Regions from separate parts of the Homo sapiens genome. Here region 2 is linked to region 1. The links are contacts of gene promoters, found by promoter capture Hi-C in blood cells and fetal thymus (Javierre and others, 2016). All regions are on one chromosome and are shown on one strand. Each heading gives the region's core, a stretch centred on a gene start or on the middle of the fragment in contact. The rest is flanking DNA. Distances are from core to core; before and after follow the strand shown. Region 1 holds the start of MAB21L3 (mab-21 like 3). Region 2 holds the start of LINC02868 (long intergenic non-protein coding RNA 2868).

The links. The method cuts DNA at HindIII sites, captures the fragments that hold promoters and counts their contacts. A CHiCAGO score of 5 or more calls a contact.
Region 2: the fragment with the promoter of LINC02868 here is called in contact with the fragment with the promoter of MAB21L3 in region 1 in 1 of 17 cell types (neutrophils); the score reaches 5.7 in neutrophils.

Annotation. Positions count from the first base shown.
Region 1 is chr1:116,109,614-116,112,826 of GRCh38, forward strand. MAB21L3 (mab-21 like 3) reads left to right here and starts at 1,786. Exons shown (of 8, transcript NM_152367.3): 1 at 1,786-1,897; 2 at 2,016-2,197; 3 at 2,794-3,050. The coding sequence starts at 3,003. The HindIII fragment of the contact is 2,542 bases long and covers 901-3,213 here.
Region 2 is chr1:116,692,561-116,695,773 of GRCh38, forward strand. LINC02868 (long intergenic non-protein coding RNA 2868) reads left to right here and starts at 1,552. Exons shown (of 4, transcript NR_149353.1): 1 at 1,552-1,637; 2 at 2,199-2,295. The HindIII fragment of the contact is 15,118 bases long and covers 1-2,196 here.

The DNA of each region.
Region 1 (3,213 bases), core at 536-3,035:
ATTTTGCATAATGTTTAATGCAAACAAATAAGCATTCAGTAATGTTTATTGAGGGCCAGTTGTGCGTTAGGTACTGAGGCTTCTCTGGAGATACAGAACAGACTGGCCCCTGCCTCGGGTTGTTCACTACTGTGGACTTCAGCACATCACAGACGATTATCTCTGCCTGGTATTCTGCATTGTCAGATTCAGTCTGAGTCATCTTGGGATTACAGGAAATCTTTTAAAAAGTCAGAGTTTGTTCCTGGCTAATATGGTGAAATCCCGTCTCTACTGAAAATACAAAAAAATTGGCAAGGCGTGGTGGCGGGCGCCTGTAGTCCTAGCTACTGGCGAGGCTGAGGCAGGAGAATGGCATGAACCTGGGAGGCGGAGCTTGCAGTGAGCCGAGATTGCGCCACTGCACTCCAGCCTGGGCGACAGAGCGAGACTCCGTCTCAAAAAAAAAAAAAAAGTCAGAGTTTGTAATCCTGCAAACTTTAACAAATTTGTATATTTAAGGTTGATTTTGATCAAGCTAACCTTCCTCCTTCTTGGAATTAAAATCTCAGACACTAAGTAAATCAGTAACAAACACTTCTGCTGGTAAACCAGGGCTAGCATTATCTCCCCGGGACTTCTCAGATTGGCAGCGTAGGGTTTTGCATGCCTTGTTAACCTGACTTGTAATAAGTTCTTAGTCTTCACAATGGAAACTGAGCCAAAGCAGGTTTACATTTCCGTACTTGCATTTGGTGTGAGTCATGAGAAAGGAGAATATTTATTTTCTGAGGAAGGAAGAGAACCTGAGCTAACTTTGAATTTCCTCAGTGGCCTAGCATACAAGTGCCTTAGGCTTACTGTAATTCAATCCTTTTGCGAATCCTATATCCAATTACCCAGATATCTACATCTAAAAAAAGCTTGTCTTCATCAAACTGTCAGACAGGAGCTGTCAGAGAGTCTATTTGTGGGACTGCCCTGTATTTCAGAGCATTTGCCCATAAGGAGCTAAATCATGGAGTAGGGAATTGGGTTGTGCCCCCACAACACACCTATTCCCTGGATATGACATCCTGGTAAAATCGGACTGTGTAGCTTCCCTGAGCACATGATTATTTCTTCGTTTCCTGATTGCTCAGTTGGCCCTGTTGGTTGCTTTCCCTGCTCACAGCCGGCAATTGTCGCTGGATCGTAGGGCAAGAGAATATTCCAGTTATAACATTTTGATCAGCTGCGGTACTGGAGCAATCAAGATAGGGCAGCCACAGGTGCAAAAATAATGAAAGTTTGTGCATCTGATGACAGGTGTCTGGGGTAACCCTCGAACATTAGGAAAGACCCCACCGGAGGAAAGGGACTCACAAGTTAATGATTACAGTGAAAGCAGAAGTAACAACAAAAATGAGCACATGAGAGAAACAGTGGGACTTTCGTAATGTTGAAAATGAGGTGGAGAGAGAATTCTAAATTGCAAGTTCAGAGAAAGAGGCTCTTGCTGTCTGTGAAAAACAAATAGTTTGGCACTACTATGATAAGAAAAGCCCAGGGAATAAGATTCTGAAAAATTTGGGAGCACTTGATATCAAAAGAAGGAGATTTAGAATTACATATAGAAACAAATGGAAAATCAAGGCTGTTTTGAGGGGTGCTATCAGAGGGTCATTGGAGAGGATGTAGCTTTACAATATTTATATCAGGCTGTGCATTGGCAGGAGTTCTGTAGAAGTTGGACTGAAAGCTGGAGGTAATGACGTGGGTGGGGCACAGAGCAGCTAGGGAGCTCTGATGCGGCTTTTGCTTGGGGCAGAGTATGGGAAGATATGCAAACGCTGAGGCCCCAAATAGTGCAGTGGCCTTTGTGGGCAGCACTTACAGGTGGGCTTGGAAACACTTGCCTTTGGAACATTGTTTAAAAGTAAGTAGTGCTCCCAGAAGGGCTGTAATTTCTTTAGATTATCTGATAGCAGACTCCGTGATGTTTACCAGCTTCAAGGAGATCAGACCATTGTGAAATTTTTTTTTTTTTTCTGTAGTAAAACTAGCCCCAGCCAGCCCAACTGGGAATTTACTGCCTGAGCTGTTTTCCAACATAAGTTTTGCTGGCAAAACCAGACGTGAGTGTTCCCTCGACTCTAAAGGGACCTGTTTACACTGACTTTATTTTTACTGCCAGCTTTCAAGTTGGAAGAGGGAAATTACGTTTAAAGGTCAGCAGGTGAGCAGAAGGATTCCTGACCAGCCATTCCTGTGGGTGTGTGCCCGTGTGCACTCTGTGTACGTGTGTGTGCCTGTGTATATGTGTGTGCCTGTGTGTACGTGTGTGCCTGTGTATATGTGTGTGCCTGTGTGTACGTGTGTGCATGCTTTTCTAAATGCCAACCGTTGTGCTCTGCGCTGGCTGACAAGACCTGATCACTTGTTTGCGGGCATAATGATGGGTGTCAGGCTGGTTGTTGGGCAGTTTCCTATTTGTTTATTGTAAAGAAGGTAAATCAATCCGTGGGATTTTCTGGCTTGGAGAGCAAGGGGTGTTTACTGTCAACAGGATAAGGACCAGGAGATATAAGATACTGAGTTCCACGGTGCATCTAGTGTTGGGACAGGAGCATAAAAGGTGGGGAGAAGCCAACTACAGGGTATTTCTGACTTGGATGGAACTTTTAAGTACTTGGGTGGGAAATACAATTTGGAAAATTGCTCTCTGGTGAAAGCACCAGTCAATGTAGCTAACTAAGGTATGATTAGGTTGGACTCAAATTCAATTTTATCAACTCTTCTTTTTAAATTCTTTTTTTTTTAATTTCCCAAAAGATGACAGATGGATTTTCACAATTTGGAAATAAAAACATGAGTGAAGGGTTCGGAAGGCAAGTCTCTGGTCCATTACACACTTCCAGAAAAACTTAGTACCCAGAGACTCACATTACTGGGAGTGCTATCTACTCACAAGTGTTGCACTCCATTGAGAAAAAAAAAAAAACCAGGAAGTTGCTGTTCTACTGAGGACTGACCAAGAAGCCATGAAATACCTTACTGTGGGAGACTTAGAAGATTGCCTACTGAATAAGGTAAGGACAGACCCGGTCTCTCCCATGAACCCCCTCCCCATTCACACTACTTCCAAACAAACCTTCGTCCAGAAAGGATCTCAGGCTCTTTCTAAAGACACATAAAATGCTCCTCAGAAAACAGACTGTCACCTATAACAATGTTTGGGGGCTTAACATATAT
Region 2 (3,213 bases), core at 302-2,801, 580 kb after region 1:
GATAAAAGCCGTGGCTCTATTCTACAGGCCAGTGGCAGCCACCAGGACTAAGGGACAGTGTATGCCATAGTCTCTATCGTTCAAATGCCTTTGGCTGTAAGTAACAAAAGATGCAACTCACAATGGCTTAATAATAGGAAAATTTATTATGCTCCATAACAAGAAATCCAGAGGTATGCAAGCTCCAGAGATGGTTAATTTAGTTCTTCAGTAATGTCATAGAAGACCCAGTTTCTTCCAGCTCGCACCCTAGCTATCTTCATCGGGTTGCACTTTTCCTCACGGTAACTCTCCTCAGAGTGAGAAGTGAGGCACAGCTGTACTAAGCAGATCTAATCCAGATAATATGACAGTGCCTGCTTCTCTTTTTACAAAGGGGAAAACCTCTTTTAGAACCCCCGGCCCTACCTAGTAGACTTCTGCTCATGGTTTTGGTCAGAACTAAGTCATGGGTCCTTTTGAAAAATCAGTTATTAGCACAGGGAAAGAGGGAATACTATGAACAGCTTAGGGCAAACACGTGGTCATGAATAGGACATGTTGCCAAGCAGACTGAAGTTATGTTAGGAAGGGAGAAGCGCAGGGATACAGTTATATTGGATAAGCAGCCACACAGCTTGCTGCTGTGTGCATTTATTCATTTATTCATTCAACAGATATTATCTATCATATACCCAGCATTGTGCTGGAGGTTGTGGACAGTAGTGAACATGAGAGACAAGATCCCTCCCCTGCCAGACCTTCCCCTCACCCCCTGCCCTTTGAGATGGAGAGGGTGTCCAGGCCTCCCCCCTTCACCCTCTGAGGTGGGGAGGCGTCCAGGGCCTCGCATCTCAGCATGGGACTGATAGGCTTGCCCTGACCTCTCGCAGGCATGAACACTGCTGTCTGGGCCGTGGCACACATGGGCATTTGTGTGGGCACCAAAGTCTTCCTCATCTGCGAGGTAAGGCTGAGGTGAGCTCTGTGTATGTGGGGAGCAGGAGCCTCCTGGGGTGCAGGCTGGGGTCTGGTCTGTGTGGGTCACCCTGGGAGCCTTCAGATGACCCTGGTGGAGCTAAGGTTCCAGACGTTCCCGTAGGGAAAGAGACGGTGGCCATGTAAACAAATAAACAAGATCCTTGTAGAGTGCCGTAACTATCATAAGGAAATCAGCAGAGCAGTGGACAGAGTGTGAACAGGGCCTGCACTGGAGGCGGACATGGAAGGTCCTCTGAGAAGGTAACATTTGATGAAGTAGGGAGCAACAAGTCCAGTGCAGATCAAGAGAGAGGACTCCAAGCAGAGCCAACAGCAAGTGCAAAGGCCCTGAGGCAGGAATGAGGTGGCTGTGTGGCTGAAGCAAAGTCTGTGCCTAATGACTAATCAAAAGTTGCTTCTGGCACCCAGCCTGGCTCCTGCCCCAAGCTGAAAACAGATCACCAGCAACAACTCTAGCTTCCCAAGCCTCTCCTGCCTAGACATGCAGCTCCACCCAGGTCAGAGGTACAGCTGCAGGGACCACAAAACAATGGGCTTAGCTCTGTGAAGACAGGAAAAGCCACCATGGTTTTGACAAAGAACCCAGGAATGGCGTTAAAGACTTCTTTGGGCAGTGTCCAATTTATGGAGCAATTTTGTTGGCCACATCTACGGAGGTATAAAAAAGACAGACATAAGGCAAGGATGGAACTACTTTGTTTATGTGTGTTGATATCCCTTCCCCATGCTCCTGTACGCCTCATAGCTCCTGCAGCGTGGTGGGTGATCCCAGTGGCTCCTATTTCACCTGGAGGCAGGACAGTGCTGCTGCCATGTGTGGCAGCTCTGCCAGGGGCTGAGGAGGCAGAGACTGTAATTCTCAGTTTGGTGTAATAATCCCTACCACTTTTCTGCGGCTGAGTTTCTGGGTGGGCATAAGTTCACTGGCAGCCTGGGTCCCCAATCTTATTCCCCTCCAGGCCTGGTAGCTCTTCTTTCTTGCAGTGAAAACCTCTCCGAGGGTTTTAATGATCCTGTCCAGTTCTGGCCTGCCACACCCATCACAGCCTGGTCAGTCCAGAGAGCGCTGAGTCCTCCTGCTTCCTCTGTCAGCAGTGACATCAGGCATCCTCCCTAGGCTTCCTCTGGAAACTCATCCCTTTTTGTCCCTCTTCCAGGTAGCCTTTTCCCCAGAATGTTGTTACTGGATTCATTTGATATTTTGTTTTCCTTTGAAGCTTTTGTGAAACTTGCGTAGGCTCATGGAGTATCCAAATGAGGCAACATCACCATCAGTCCTCCTTCCCTGGCTCACTGCCTCAGGAAACCAACCTGGTAGGTATTTCTGAGACTCCCAGTTTCTATGGAAGTCCCTGGGGATTTCTCACTCAAATCTGCAAAGTGCTTAGTCTTCCTGGACTTTTGGCTCTAGGCAGTTTGCTTGGAAGTATTGAAGGAGAGTAGCTCCCTGACCCCCATGTGATAATATTACAGGGCCTCAGAGCAGGGTTGTTTGGCATTCTAGGGGCTGGGAGATTGGTGAGACACCCCAGATGTCTGCTTGACTTCAGGGTGGCTGATTAGGGTGGGCTGATTACAGTAGAGTCCACCACCCTACACTCGGAACCGCAGCTTCCTCTGAATTGCAACTGTGCTGCTGCCTGGGACAGATTCCTTTCTTTTTAAGGTTGAAATTTCTCTTAAGGAGTCCATATTTGGGTTTTGTCCCTAACCACCCCACCTCCCCAATTCCCTGTCCTAAGTTCTGCAGGCACCAGGGACCGCCATTGTGAACACAGGGGGGTTCTTTCCTGGAGCTCCAGAATCCAGGTAGACATCTGGGAAGTGATGGGAAAAGAGGTCATTCCATCATTTGGACAAATCTAAATCTAAATTTAGCCCCAGCCTGCTATAGAATATCAGCATGAAAGAAACTTTGGAGGCTATTAGGTCAACTGCTTCATTTTGCAGATGAGAAAACAGAGGCCCAGAGAGGTGAAGTGGTTGGACCAAGAACATGCACCTCATGGCAGAGCTAGACTGACCCTGTTTCCTGACTTTCAGTCTGGGTCTCCATTCAATGTGCCTTCTGCCCTTGTCCCTTTTGAATTTTATAAAAGGTCCTTTACATTCAAGAGCCTCTTCTTTCTGTTCCCCTGCCCACCCTCTACCTTGTAGAACTTCTGATAAGACACCTAGGCCATGAGTGGCATTCTTGGGCTGTCTTGAGTGTGAAGACACCTTTGTGGCTAG